Regions from separate parts of the Homo sapiens genome. Here regions 1 and 2 are each linked to region 3. Evidence: promoter capture Hi-C in 16 types of primary human blood cells and fetal thymus (Javierre and others, 2016). All regions are on one chromosome and are shown on one strand. Each heading gives the region's core, a stretch centred on a gene start or on the middle of the fragment in contact. The rest is flanking DNA. Distances are from core to core; before and after follow the strand shown.

Evidence for each region. Contacts are between HindIII fragments. The CHiCAGO score rates a contact against its expected background, and 5 or more counts as called.
Region 1: a contact is called between a fragment that was not itself captured here and the fragment with the promoter of PDGFA in region 3, in 2 of 17 cell types (activated CD4 T cells and naive CD8 T cells). The highest score is 6.4, in activated CD4 T cells.
Region 2: a contact is called between a fragment that was not itself captured here and the fragment with the promoter of PDGFA in region 3, in 1 of 17 cell types (activated CD4 T cells). The highest score is 5.5, in activated CD4 T cells.

The regions. Positions count from the first base shown.
Region 1 is chr7:756,375-760,935 of GRCh38, reverse strand. DNAAF5 (dynein axonemal assembly factor 5) reads right to left here. Exons shown (of 13, transcript NM_017802.4): 6 at 3,942-4,154. Among named protein-coding and RNA genes, the nearest start is that of PRKAR1B, 31 kb to the right of the region's middle. The HindIII fragment of the contact is 7,680 bases long and covers 1-4,561 here.
Region 2 is chr7:306,300-310,572 of GRCh38, reverse strand. No RefSeq gene overlaps it. Among named protein-coding and RNA genes, the nearest start is that of FOXL3-OT1, 17 kb to the right of the region's middle. The HindIII fragment of the contact is 813 bases long and covers 1,870-2,682 here.
Region 3 is chr7:517,438-521,952 of GRCh38, reverse strand. It overlaps PDGFA (platelet derived growth factor subunit A), which reads left to right and starts at 2,107. Exons shown (of 6, transcript NM_033023.5): 1 at 2,107-3,014; 2 at 4,463-4,515. The coding sequence starts at 2,952. PDGFA-DT (PDGFA divergent transcript) reads right to left here and starts at 1,562. Exons shown (of 3, transcript NR_033963.1): 1 at 1-1,562. RefSeq lists enhancers at 1-549, 2,394-3,315, 4,238-4,515 and silencers at 1,638-1,977, 2,078-2,167, 2,448-2,587, 3,048-3,137. The HindIII fragment of the contact is 35,865 bases long and covers 1-4,515 here.

The sequences.
Region 1 (4,561 bases), core at 373-2,872, 240 kb before region 3:
GCCTGCCCCTCTTCTGTGCATTTTTGAGCTTTTCTATAACACCAAGTTTTAAGACAAATAAAATTCTATGGCTTAACATGTTTACTGATTGACGGGGAGGTGGAGTCTCAGCTCTGCACCTACGGCTGCGCTGGATGAATGGCTTCCCCTCCCGGCTCCAGCCTCATCCACTGTGAATCAGCCAGGCTCTGAAGCCCGCAACACAGCAGGCGTGTGCTGGACCCAAGAATTCCTAAGGCTTTGCGTGTGCTTACTTCTTTCTAAATAAATTTTAACTTATTTTTTAGAGACAGGGTCTTGCTCTGTCGCCCAGGCTGGAGTGCAGTGGTGCAATCGTGGCTAACTGCAGTCTCAAACTCCTAGCCTTAAGTGATCCTCCTGCCGTGGCCTCTCAAAGTGCTGGGATCATAGATAAGAACCACCACGCCTGGCCTGTATTTACTTCTTATAACGTCCCTCTAATGTCTATTTTATGTATGTTTCATAAAGTACAGAGTGAGTCAGGACCGTGGCCATGTAATTTAAACACGTGATTTATCAACAGTGTACATATATTGGAGGCCTATGCTTAAAAACTGTTTTTACTAATGGGGGTGCAAGTTCAAAGAAGTTTGGTAATTATTTGGCTAGACAATGGGTTGGTTCTAAATTTCCTAATCAGCTCTAAAACTCTAAGCCTCATTCCCCACTGACGTAAATCATGGAAGACTAAACAAAACACTCCCACTGTACTACAGCAGCGTTCTGTCCTTGCACCCCGGCCCCGCCCTGACCCACAGAAGACACAGAGCTGCATGGCTCCATCTCCCTCGGAGCTGGAGGAGCCGCGCGGCCCCGTCTCCCTCAGAGCTGGAGGAGCCGCGCGGCCCCGTCTCCCTCGGAGCTGGAGGAGCCGTGTGGCCCTGTCGTGGCCCCAACTCCCACAGAAGCCACAGATTTGTTTTTATTCCATTCCTGATTTTTCCCACAGCCCAATTTCTCTAAGGCCTGTACTAACTGGCTGACTTCTGAGGACAATATCTGGCTAGTTTCTAGAATGACCTGTCATGTACATTTCAGGAGCGATCATCTTTTCGGTTAAAATCAAAAGGCAGGTGCGTTTAGAAGACACAGCCCCTCCTGGCTGACCACACCTCCAAGCACAGGAACAAACAGGGAATCAGGCATCCTTTGCAGCAAGCACCACCCTCCTGCCACGAACGCAGCACCGTCTCTGAGGAAGTGACAAGACTTCACATTTATAGATTTCTCTATATTTGACCAGACAATTTTCAGTGTCTGCCTACATACAACGCACACACACAGAACGAAAAAGAAAAAAGATACAGCAGGAAATAATTCTCAGTATTTTTTGAAATACTATTTCAAACATTGTTTTCTGAAACAATGTTATCTAAGACTGCAAAGGTTTTTAATTCAGAAAAGCACAAGAGACTCCTATTTCAACAATGGCAATGGCATCCCACAACTGCTGGCTTCCCTGTGTGAGAAGCAAATCGGTGAGTTACCCATTTCCTCACTCTAGACACCTGTCCTAAACTCCTTCCCAGGAGACTCCAGTTCCCGTCTGTCGAGCTCTAGGGGACCTACTGGGCCCGAGACACCTGGAAGTACCTACTGCTAAAGCCAGATTTCCTGTGAACCCCAGGGCAGGGAGTGAAGCCAGGCTCAGTTTAGAATACATTTACACGGACTTCTCTGTTTAAACACGAGCTTTTAAAACAATTTCGGTTTGTTCTTGAAAGACATTTTCAACCTGTTCTCATAGCTACTGGAGAATAGCTGTGGGAAACATAATCGACTTCCCAAATGACATGACACAAAGCCCGGCCGGCCGCGGGAAGAGCACAGGGGCGTGGGAAGAGCACAGAACCACGGGCCTGATTCTGACTGAGACCTGAGTACCTTCACCCTTTCTTGCCAAAAATTTAAGTCTGTTAAGGAGTAAAATGGGGCCAGGTGCGGTGGCTCACACCTGTAATCCCAGCACTTTGGGAGGCCGAGGTGGGCTGATCACTTGAAGTCAGGAGTTCAAGACCAGCCTGGCCAACATGGAGAAACCCCGTCTCTACTAAAAACACAAAAATTAGCCGGGTGTGGTGGTGCATGCCTGTAATCCCAGCTACTTGGGAGGCTGAGGCAGGAGAATCGCTTGAACCTGGGAGGCGGAGGCTGCAGTGAGCCAAGATTGCGCCACTGCATTCTAGCCTGGGTGACAGAGCAAGACTCTGTCCCAAAAAGTAAATAAATAAAAATAAATAAAAAAAAATTACCCAGGTGTGGTGGTGCACACCTGTAGTCCCAGTGACTCAGGAGGCTGAGGTGGGAGGATCAACCTAAAACAAAAAAATAAAAACAAGAAAGGAGTGAAATGTACGTCTTGGGTTTTCACTGTGACTGGCTCCTTGGCCAAAGGGCCGACACACGTTCGCAGCCTGGAAGGTTGAGGCTGGCTTCCCAGGGGTCCCGTGTGACTGGACTTTGTCAGAAAGACGTCTCTGTTTGAAAGATTGTGATTAAATTTTTCCTCGATAAAACTGGAAGATGGGGAGCCAAATGCACAACTGTGGGATGACACAATTCCGTTTTCCTGTAACCAACATGGAGATGTGAAAACTACACTTTCTTTGCTATAAAGTTTGTGAGATAAGGATTTAGGCACCTGTGCACATTTTCAAGTTATGCCCTTCTAGGAAAAAATGCTTCTGGCTTGCAAATCTGTATACAGAAATCAAAGGCATCCTCATAACCCCTCGTGGGTGAAGGAAAGTGGAGAACTGACACACATTCGATGATGTGTTAAAAACGGGTTTTGGGAAAAGCTGAAGCATGGCTGAAATGCCATGAGCACGCGGCCCGGGCCCCTCCCCCGCTCCCTTCCTTACCCCAGCTCCGTTTCCTTCCCTCTATGTATTCCAGGAACTGCTTACAGGTTTCTTAAAACAGTTTACAAAAATGACTGTCAACAGCCCCACCTCTCGTTCTGAGGACGGAGAGGGAGCCTGACACAGGACAGGCCGGGCTGAGAGCACAGTGGCAAGTCCCCGTGCCCCAGGCCAGCTTTGGGGCCATAGAAGCCGCCGGAAACGATCGAGCCGGAGCAAGTGCCTCCAGGGGTGAGCTGAGGCCCGCCCTGCATGGCACGGCCGCCTGGTGGGGGCAGCCCTGTGTCCCAGAAATATCTGGGGTGCTGAGTCCAACACACACACTGACAGGGACCACTCACCTTCAAATGAAAGCAAAGCCATCACCTCTTCTTCCATGGAATACAACTATGGATTATTCCAAACAATTGAGCCCAACTACCCAGGCTGTTCCAGCTTCTGAGCTCAAGGATTTGCTGCTCAATTTAAAATTAAACAAATGTCTCTGGCAAATCCTCAGCTGGGCTGTGAGAAGCACAGATCGGAACGCCAGGCAGGGCTGATGGGGAACAGGCTGTCAGTGCCCCCTGAGGACGTGCGATCTGTGCAGGTACCCTGGGGACTGGATGGGATGGTGGACGTGCGACCACGCTCCTCAGGGGTGGGATGACGTGGACCCCACATCTACCCCCAGCAGCATGGGCCAGAGGGTCCCGGCCATGGACGCCTCCTGAGTCATCAAACACGTGAACTGTGGTGTGTGGCCAAGAAAGGGGCAGCAACGAATGTAAACGTGAGCGGCCGCCTGCAGCTGGGGCTGGGGCTGGGGCTGGAGCTCTGCACAGCCCAGGACGAGGCCCCGGAACAAGGGCTATCAGCGAGGGCACTCCGGTTACTGCAGGTGTTTCCGATGGCCCGGCCTGGCGGCACGGGGCGGACCCACAGACACGTCGCTGGGTGCTTCCGACAGCCCAGCCTGGCGGCACAGGGCAACCCACAGACATGTCATTACGATGGCTGACGGCCGGGCAGGGGAGGCTCCTCCTCTCCACTCCCGCATCTCCCAAGTGCTCTTACGTTTTCAGATGCCTGGCAGATGTGGGCCTGTGCCAGCTCTGTGGCGATGGCTGCCAGGTGCGGCTGGAGGGCTTCTCGGGGGCAACCCCGCATGGCGGAGGCCAGCACCAGGAGGCCGGAGGCAGAGGGCGTCTTCTTCAGCGTCGATAAGATCAGCTTCAGAAACACCTCAGGGCTGACAAACGTCCCGACGAGCTCTGCGGATCTGGTACACTGCGAGAAAGAAACATGAGAAAACTCAGAGCCAAACCCGAGGGTCTCAGCCGGGCTCCTGCTCTCGGCGCCGTGGCCTCCCAGACACAGCCGTGCACCAGACAGAGCCCCGTGTTAGGCAGAGTGAGTCCTTGGCACATGCTCAGAGCCCTCAGGAAAGGTACAAGGGTCCGGGTGTGGTCTCAGAACGTCCCTGAGGCCAGCGAGCCGGACACGCCTCCCAGGCAGTGAAGTCTGGCCCAAAGGATGCTGTGTCCCAGCTGTGGGGTTCACCACACACCCCTCATCGGACACCAGTGACCCAACCTTCCCATCACTAAGCTGATCAATACACACCAGCCCCTCTGTACCGTGGAAGCCCACAGTGGATCACACACTCACCAGCCCCTCTGCACCGTGGGATTCCA
Region 2 (4,273 bases), core at 1,027-3,526, 210 kb after region 3:
TGGATCATGAGGTCAGGAGATCGAGACCATCCTGGCTAACACGGTGAAACCCCGTCTCTACTAAAAATACAAAAAATTAGCTGGGCGTGGTGGCGGGCGCCTGTAGTCCCAGCTACTCGGGAGGCTGAGGCAGGAGGGTGGCGTGAACCCGGGAGGCGGAGCTTGCAGTGAGCCGAGATCGCGCCACTGCACTCCAGCCTGGGTGACAGAGCAAGACTCTGTCTCAAAAACAAAAACAAAAACAAAAAACAGAACAACAATAACAAAAAAAAATTAAAGGTTAAACCCCACCACACCACCCATATCAGGGTCTCTCAACCTTGGCACTGTTGACTATCGACATTTAGGGCTGGATTATTCGTTGTGGTGGGGACTGTAGGGTGTTTGCTGGGATCCTTGCCCTTTCTCACTGGGAACCCCTCAGTCATGACAACCAAAAATATATTCAGACTTTGCCGAATTTGCCCTGGAGGTAAACCACCCCCGCTGAGAGCACTGCCTGCGTGGGACAGGGCAGCAGGAGAGCAAAGGGGTGGAGACTCGCAGAGACGATGGCTGTGGCACCTTCAGGAGGGATGCGAGGACAGCCGTCATGGCCCCTTTCTCATCTGAGCTCTCAGTTGGTTTTTCCAGCCACTGCTGTCCACATTCCCTTTGTCCTTGAGGACTTGGGTTCTTTTGATGAATTGAAGGGCTTGGGGACCCAGTTTGTGTGGAAACAGCCCCAGGGCCTGGGCCCCGCATTTCCGTGTTTCTGTCCCACCCTCTTCCCTGCCCAGCGTTTCTCTCCACCAAGATCCCACGGCTGCACTTTCACCCAGGGCCACGCGGAAGCCGAAATCCCCACCCGAAGCCCGGGCTTTCGGTTCTCACACCTCGGTGAATTTTATTGATCTTCAAAAATCTTTGTTGAGCCTCCCCATTGTACTTTTGTTTCATATTTTGTTGTTTTTCTGTTCTCATCTCTAGTATTTTTATTCATAGGTTTGGTTCATTGCTCTTTTTCTGATGAAGAGGGACCCTTACACTGTTGATCTTTCTGCCTTTCTTCTTTTTACTGCGTTCCGTGAAGGGTGTAAGTCTCCTCCGAAGGGCTGCCTAGGCCGCATCCCACAGTTTGGCTGGGTGCATCTTCATTACCTTTTAGAACTATTTTTTTTGTTTGTTTTTTAAGACAGAGTCTCACTCTGTCAACCAGGCTGGAGTGCAATGGTGTGATCTCGGCTCACCGCAACCTCCGCCTCCTAGGTTCAAGCAATTCTCCTGCCTCAGCCTCCCGAGAAGCTGGGATTACAGGCATGCACCACCACACCCGGCTAATTTGTATTTTTAATAGAGATGAGGTTCTTCATGTTGGTCAGGCTGGTCTCAAACTCTCAACCTCAGGTGATCCACCCACCTCGGCCTCCCAAAGTGCTGGGATTACAGCCATGCACCACCACGCCTGGCTAATTTGTATTTTTAGTAGAGATAGGGTTCTCCATGTTGGTCAGGCTGGTCTCAAACTCTCAACCTCAGGTGATCCACCCACCTCGGCCTCCCAAAGTGCTGGGATTACAGGCGTGAGCCACTGCACCCGGCCACAAAATATTTTATCATTTCCATTTTGATTTCCTCTTTGAATCATGGACTATTTAGGAATGTGTTGTTTAATTTTCAGGCAGCTGGAGTTTTTCTAGTTATATTTAATCAAGTTTTAGATTAATTTTATTGTATTCAGAGAACATACTTTACAATCTGTTAAAATTTGTTGAGGCTTCTTAATGGCCCAACGTACGATCAATTTAGCAAATGTTTCATGTGAATTTGGGAGGATGGTGACTCCATGTTCTGGAGTACTGGCCTGTGTATATGACATGTGGTTAAGCTTGTTGTTAGATCTTACCATTATGAAATGTCACTCTTTATCTATAGAAAAGTTTTTAACTTTACTATCTGTTTTTTTATTTTTTTGAGACAGAGTCTCACTCTGTCACCCAGGCTGGCGTGCAGTGGCCTGATCTCAGCTCACTGCAACCTCCACCTCCCAGATTCAAACGATTCTCCTGCCTCAGCCTCCCAAGTAGCTAGGATTACAGGTGCCCACCACTATGCCCAGCTGATTTTTGTGTTTTTAGTAGAGACAGGGTTTCAGTATTTGGCCAGGCTGGTGTTGAACTCCTGACTTCAGGTGATCCACCCATCTCAGCCTCCCAAAGTGCTGGGATTACAGGCGTGAGCCACTGCACTAGTGTCTGTTTCGTCTGTTAATATAGCTACACCAACCTTCTGTTGGTTAGTGTCCTCGTGCTATATAGTTTTTTTACTTTTAACCTTTCTGTGTCCTTACAGTTAAAATGTGTCTCCTGTAAGCAACATACAGTTGATTTTTTCTTGATCTAGTCTGACCATCAGTGGGTTTTTTATCCATTTACATTTAATGGGATTTAGATCTACCCTCTTACTGTTTTGTTTTCTTTTTTGTCCATTAGTTTTTTGTTTCCTTTTTTCTTCCTTTCTTAACTTTCTTTGAATGGGTTAACATTTTTCTTCCATTATTTGTGAGTTGTATATTATTTTACTACCTCTTTTATAAGGTTTGCCCTAGCAATTATAAAATGTATTCTTGACTTATTATGGTCTAATCCAATTATTACCATTACTAATAACAGCTGTATTTATGTTGCTATAATCTTAGAAGCTTTGAATTCTACACCCTCCTCATTTTGCATTGTGGTCTTCTTGCATTTTATTTCTTTGCATATTTTAACTCCACAAGACCTAATAATTGTTGCTTTGTACAATTAATATACACCTGCATTTATCCCAAAGTTTACCGTCCTGGTTTCCCTGGCTGCATTTCCATATTTCTGTCTAACATTCTTGACCTTGGATGAGCCTTTCTGATTACCTGTGTCAGCAGTAACTTCGCTGAGCTGCTCGGCCTCAGCCAAGGCTTTTCACATGGTACTGGTATCTTTTTTAAAAATTAAATCTGCCACCCTGTGGGAAGAAAAGCCTAAAAGTGTGGACCCTGGACCCAGGCTGCCTGTGTTCAAATGCTCGCCTCACCACTTTGCTGGCTATGTGACCTCAAGCAAGTAACTTAACTTTTCTGTGCCTTGGTTTTCTCATCTGTAAAATGGGATGATGTGGTGCCTATCATAGAGGGTTGCTGTGATGATTAAATGAGTAAATATAGGTAAAGTAAAGCAGCGTCCACACGTGGTTAGCTCCATACAGTGCAAGCCATTGTCATCATCAGTGTTGCTTTTGGGTGAAGCACAATCTGAGTCTCTGAAGTTTCAAGCCATTGGTGACAGATCAGGGTCCACATGGCAGGTGAGGTGGAGGCCAGGCAGGCAGGGTCCCGGTGCCTGGTGGGCTCTGCACCAAAAGGAATAAAGGGAAGATTGGAATCCTTCCTCATGAACATCAGGGCCCTTCTAGGAGGTGCTGTGATCAAAATAGACGGAAATTGGTGCTTGGAAGTCAGAAATACTGGGGCAGGTGTCTCCAACCCCACCTGGAGAGGAGGGGCAGTCAGGAAAGACTTCCTGGAGGAGGCAGCCTGGGAGCTGCATCTCGGGGCACAAATAGGGGTTAGCTGAGCTGAGAGGGGGAAAGATGCCCTCCCTAAGCACAGGAGCTAACATTTTGTTTTTTAGCAGACGAAGAACAAGGCAGAGAGCAGCTCCGGAGGCTGACAGAGAAGCAGCGAGGAAAGCAGGCTTGGCTGGGGGAGCTGAGGGTGCCCGGTTCTGGGTGGGGGAGCTGAGGGTGCCCAGTTCTGGGTGGGGGAGTGTGGTCAGGGTCTCTCCAGGCAGAGAGGGAACAAGGCCACTTGTATCTACTGCCGTCACAGGAATGTTAAAAAAATAAAGAACTGGCTGGGCATGGTGGCTTGTAATCTCAGCACTTTGTGAGGCCAAGGTGGGTGGATCACTTGAGCCCAGGGATTTGAGAACAGCCTGGGCAACATAGGAAAACCCCGTCTCTAATATATGATAAATATTAGATATATAGTGTGTATACACCCGCACACAAAATTAGCTGGGCGTGGTGGCACCTACTTGGGAGGCTGAGGTGGGAGGATCACCTGAGTCCAGGAGGTTGACGCTGCAGTGAGCGGTGATCACGCCACTGTACGTACTCCAGCCCGGGCAATGAAGTGAGACCTTGTCTTAAAAAAAAAAAAAAAAAAGGCGGGAGAAGGGATTATTTTCAAAAATGGGAGGACTGGCCAAACATAACTATACCTTTTTAAATTGTTATTTAAAATTTTTAATGTTTA
Region 3 (4,515 bases), core at 858-3,357:
GACGGGTCGCGGTTTTATTTTTAATAGCGGCCGGCGATTAGAGAGATGCCTGCACCGCTTTCGCCTAAGCTCTGCGTCCCCCGCGGGTGAAGCACCCACGCCCCGCCCCAGCCCCCGCCTCGCTCCAGCGCCCCTTGCACGTCCCCAGGTGGCCCTAAACTCTAGCTGGGCGCACCCGTAGCTCCAGGCCGGGCAGGGGAGCCGAGGGAAGCAGCCATCTAGGCCCTCAGAGGCGGCGAGGACCCCCAGGATCCCTCAAGCTGGGAGGGACGGGTACCCCATCCCCAATACAACGCGACCTTCCTCCTTGCCTTCCACACCGTCTTACCGAGTCCTCTAACCCCACAGAGGTGTCCTCGGGCCCCCTCTGCGCGCGAGCAGTCCGAGGCCCAGGAAGACAGGATGCGCGCCACTCCGGGATAACTGGCCGAAGAATGAGGCCGGGGTCCGGCCTGCGTCCTGGCCCTGCGAGTCCGGCTCTTTCCAGAAGCCATGCAGTGGGTGTCCCCTCCCAAGCCGCAAGTTCCCCCTGGAGGGACAAGGCCTGGCTTTAAGGGGCTCCTCCACGTTTCCAAGGCTCCCCTGGTTCTGTCCCGGTCCCGCTTGGTCCTGACCACCCAGAGGGCATGCTTGACCGCGGGGGTCGTGGTGTGGGGCTGCGGCCAACGGAAGGGAGAGACGTGGGGAGGGGGCCTGCAGGTGTGTGGAAGGGCGCGTGTAGACGCGACCCACTGGGAGCGGAGGGAGAGGCGTCGCTCCCCAAATATTTGGGGGAAGGGGAGAGCCCCCGAAGCGCTCTCCGGATTCGGCCTTTGAAATGCTAGAGCTGGCCTAGCTGGGGATGAAAGACCGCCCGCGGGGCTGCGCCTTAACGGCCTTTGTCTGGAGGGAGGGCGACCGCGACGGGGGCAGGGGTTTAATCGACAGGGTTGGGGGTGACGGCTGGGCCGGGCGGGATTCTCCGCTGCTCACCCAAGGAAGCGTCTCCTGGGCTCCAGGGGCCTAGGCCGTCTAGCCTCGGGGTCTGCACAGCACGCCACCCCGCTGGACCCGGTACCAGGACGCGTAGACCCCCTGGCAGGGCACTGACGAGCACCTGGACCTGTAGTCAGGGTCCAATCCCTCCTGGTCTAGGGAGGCGAAATCCATCCAGCCCAGGCGCACCCGCCCTTTCTCGGCGTGGGAGCCGTCTAGCCACGCTCAGACCTCGGCCTCCGCGCGCGTTCCTCCCCCGCATCGCGCTCTGAGCTGCGCCTCGGCCGGAGGTGGCGCTCTGTGCGCCCCACGGATCCCGACGCGGGAGGCTCAGAACCCGGGGGACCCTCACCGGTGGCTCCTTTCCCTTCCATCCCCTCGACTTCCCGGCTCAGGGCGCGGCCCTGCCTTCGGCGCGGGAGTGGGGGACTGGGGGGCGCGGGGTCCCAGGGTGGGGACGAGGCGGGCTGCAGGCCCTTTCCCCGACTGGAGCTCGCTCCCAAGTGGAAATGTGGGTGGAGGGTCCTCATTCAGATGCCCCAGGCCTCGGATCCTGGGCGGGGGCGCGTGGCAGCCGCCAGGTGAGTGCCCCAAACCCGCCCCCCTCCTTCCCCAAAGACTGACTCCCCCTCCTTTTATGGAGAGAGGAAGGCTGGGGCCCTGGATCCGAACCGTGGAGAGCGGCCGGAGCGCCGGGGCGGGGGCGGGGACCGGCTCTCTGGCCCTTTTTGGCGCAGCAGCTCTGGGCGCTGCCCGCTGCCGCCGCTGGGGCCCGAGAGAGGCGAGCCGGCGACGGCGGCGCTTCTGCGGCGGCCTCCTCCCTCCCCACCCGGTGCCGCAGGATTGCAGCTGGCACTGGAGGGTGGGCAAGCTCGAGGGAGGGGCGCGGAGCCCCGGCGCGGAGCCGGGCGCGGGGCTTTGATGGATTTAGCTGCTTGCGCGAGCGCGTGTGTGCTCCCTGCCGCGGCGGCGGCGCCCGGGCCCTGCCGGGTCCGCACGAACCCCGAGCGCTTCCGAGGTGCGGGTCCCAGGCCCGGAATCCGGGGGAGGCGGGGGGGGGGGGCGGGGGCGGGGGCGGGGGAGGGGCGCGGCGGCGGCGCTATAACCCTCTCCCCGCCGCCGGCCGGCTCCACACGCGCGCCCTGCGGAGCCCGCCCAACTCCGGCGAGCCGGGCCTGCGCCTACTCCTCCTCCTCCTCTCCCGGCGGCGGCTGCGGCGGAGGCGCCGACTCGGCCTTGCGCCCGCCCTCAGGCCCGCGCGGGCGGCGCAGCGAGGCCCCGGGCGGCGGGTGGTGGCTGCCAGGCGGCTCGGCCGCGGGCGCTGCCCGGCCCCGGCGAGCGGAGGGCGGAGCGCGGCGCCGGAGCCGAGGGCGCGCCGCGGAGGGGGTGCTGGGCCGCGCTGTGCCCGGCCGGGCGGCGGCTGCAAGAGGAGGCCGGAGGCGAGCGCGGGGCCGGCGGTGGGCGCGCAGGGCGGCTCGCAGCTCGCAGCCGGGGCCGGGCCAGGCGTCCAGGCAGGTGATCGGTGTGGCGGCGGCGGCGGCGGCGGCCCCAGACTCCCTCCGGAGTTCTTCTTGGGGCTGATGTCCGCAAATATGCAGAATTACCGGCCGGGTCGCTCCTGAAGCCAGCGCGGGGAGCGAGCGCGGCGGCGGCCAGCACCGGGAACGCACCGAGGAAGAAGCCCAGCCCCCGCCCTCCGCCCCTTCCGTCCCCACCCCCTACCCGGCGGCCCAGGAGGCTCCCCGCGCTGCGGGCGCGCACTCCCTGTTTCTCCTCCTCCTGGCTGGCGCTGCCTGCCTCTCCGCACTCACTGCTCGCGCCGGGCGCGCTCCGCCAGCTCCGTGCTCCCCGCGCCACCCTCCTCCGGGCCGCGCTCCCTAAGGGATGGTACTGAATTTCGCCGCCACAGGAGACCGGCTGGAGCGCCCGCCCCGCGGCCTCGCCTCTCCTCCGAGCAGCCAGCGCCTCGGGACGCGATGAGGACCTTGGCTTGCCTGCTGCTCCTCGGCTGCGGATACCTCGCCCATGTTCTGGCCGAGGTTGGTGCCGCCCCCGCGCCCCGTCCCTGCGCCGGCTCCTCCGGCGCACACCCCCCGCCGGCTGGGGCGCCACGGGCTCTGCAGAGAGCGTTTTGGTTCCTGCCAGGGTGGTCGATGTTTAGATTTTCCCAACTGGGTTCTATTTTCTGCCATGCCTAAGTGTGTGTGGGGAGTTTCCAGCGTGTTGCGTCGGTCGCTCTGCCTCGGGGGGACCGGGGAGCAGCGAGGTGGACGAGTGGGCAGAAACTTCGGGGGGCGCAGTGTCCTCTCCGGGGAAGGGGAGCTGGGGCGCAGCGGGCGCTGCAGCAGCGGGGTGCGGGGAGCGGGGAAGGGGGTGTGTGTGAGCCGGCGGAGCCTGGGGAGGAGAGAAGGGCGGCGGATAAATAGGTAGGGGCGGCTGCTGCGGAAGCCCCTGGCCGGGCAGGGTGGGCAGCGCCAAGCTGCAGCCCTCGGTTCCCAGTCCCCAAGCCCGGCGGGGCTCAGGGCCGGCGCAGTCCCGCCCGCCCGGGCCTGCTTACAGGTGGCTGAGCGAGGCGAGCTGGGGCTGGGCCAGGCGTCCGCACCCTCCCACCGCGGCGTCCCCGCCCCCCCATCCCCATCCCCATCCCCATCCCCGGGAGCTTTGCTGTGATGAATGACTTTCCACAGCCCCCGTCGTGGGAACTTAGTGCTTCAGGCTCCCCAGCGACCCCCGACTCTCCTTAAAAATCGGGGAGGGGAGTGGGGGAGGCCAGAGGTGAGGGTGGTCTCCGCAGGGCACGGAGAGCTGCGCGAGGTGGAAGTTTAACCCTCGCTTTCCCTGGAGGCTTCTTCTCCCGGCCGCCGGCTGGATTTGGGCGTCTTAGTCGGCGCTAGGGCCGCGGCTGGGCCGGAGCCCGGGGTGGGGCGAGTGTGTGAGTGAGATGTGTGTGCGCGTGTGTGTGTCTGCGCGCGCGTGCGTGTGTTTGTGAGACGGAGAGACCTCTCCACGGGTTCGGCCCGGGATTCCGGGGCGTGAAATTTAAGCCCTGCCTGGATTAAAGTGTTAGGGCTGCCGTGACTCTCGCCGACCCGTGACGCATTTTAACTTGATCTTTCTAGATGTTGATCTCACTATTAAATCAGAAACTTTCGGCCCCCTCGCTGCCCCCTAGACCTTCTGTAACTGACACCCCGGGTGGAGGGGCCGGAGTGCGGGGGCTTTTGTCTGAAAATATAAAGGGGGGGGGGCTTTGATTTTGCAAAGGGCGGAACATGGATGCGGGTGGAGAATTTGGGGTCTCTTCCAGCCCCACCCCCGGCTTCTGGTTCCAGGGCCGGGGCGAGGGCTCCGCGGGGGCTGGGGCGGGGACTGCGGCCGGCGCTCGCGGGGTCTCCTCGGGCCCGGGGCGGCGGCGCTCCTGGCGGCCGGGGGCGCGTGCCGGCGGGGTCGGGGCCGCGGGCGCTGACCGTGTGGCCTCTGCTTGCAGGAAGCCGAGATCCCCCGCGAGGTGATCGAGAGGCTGGCCCGCAGTCAGATCCA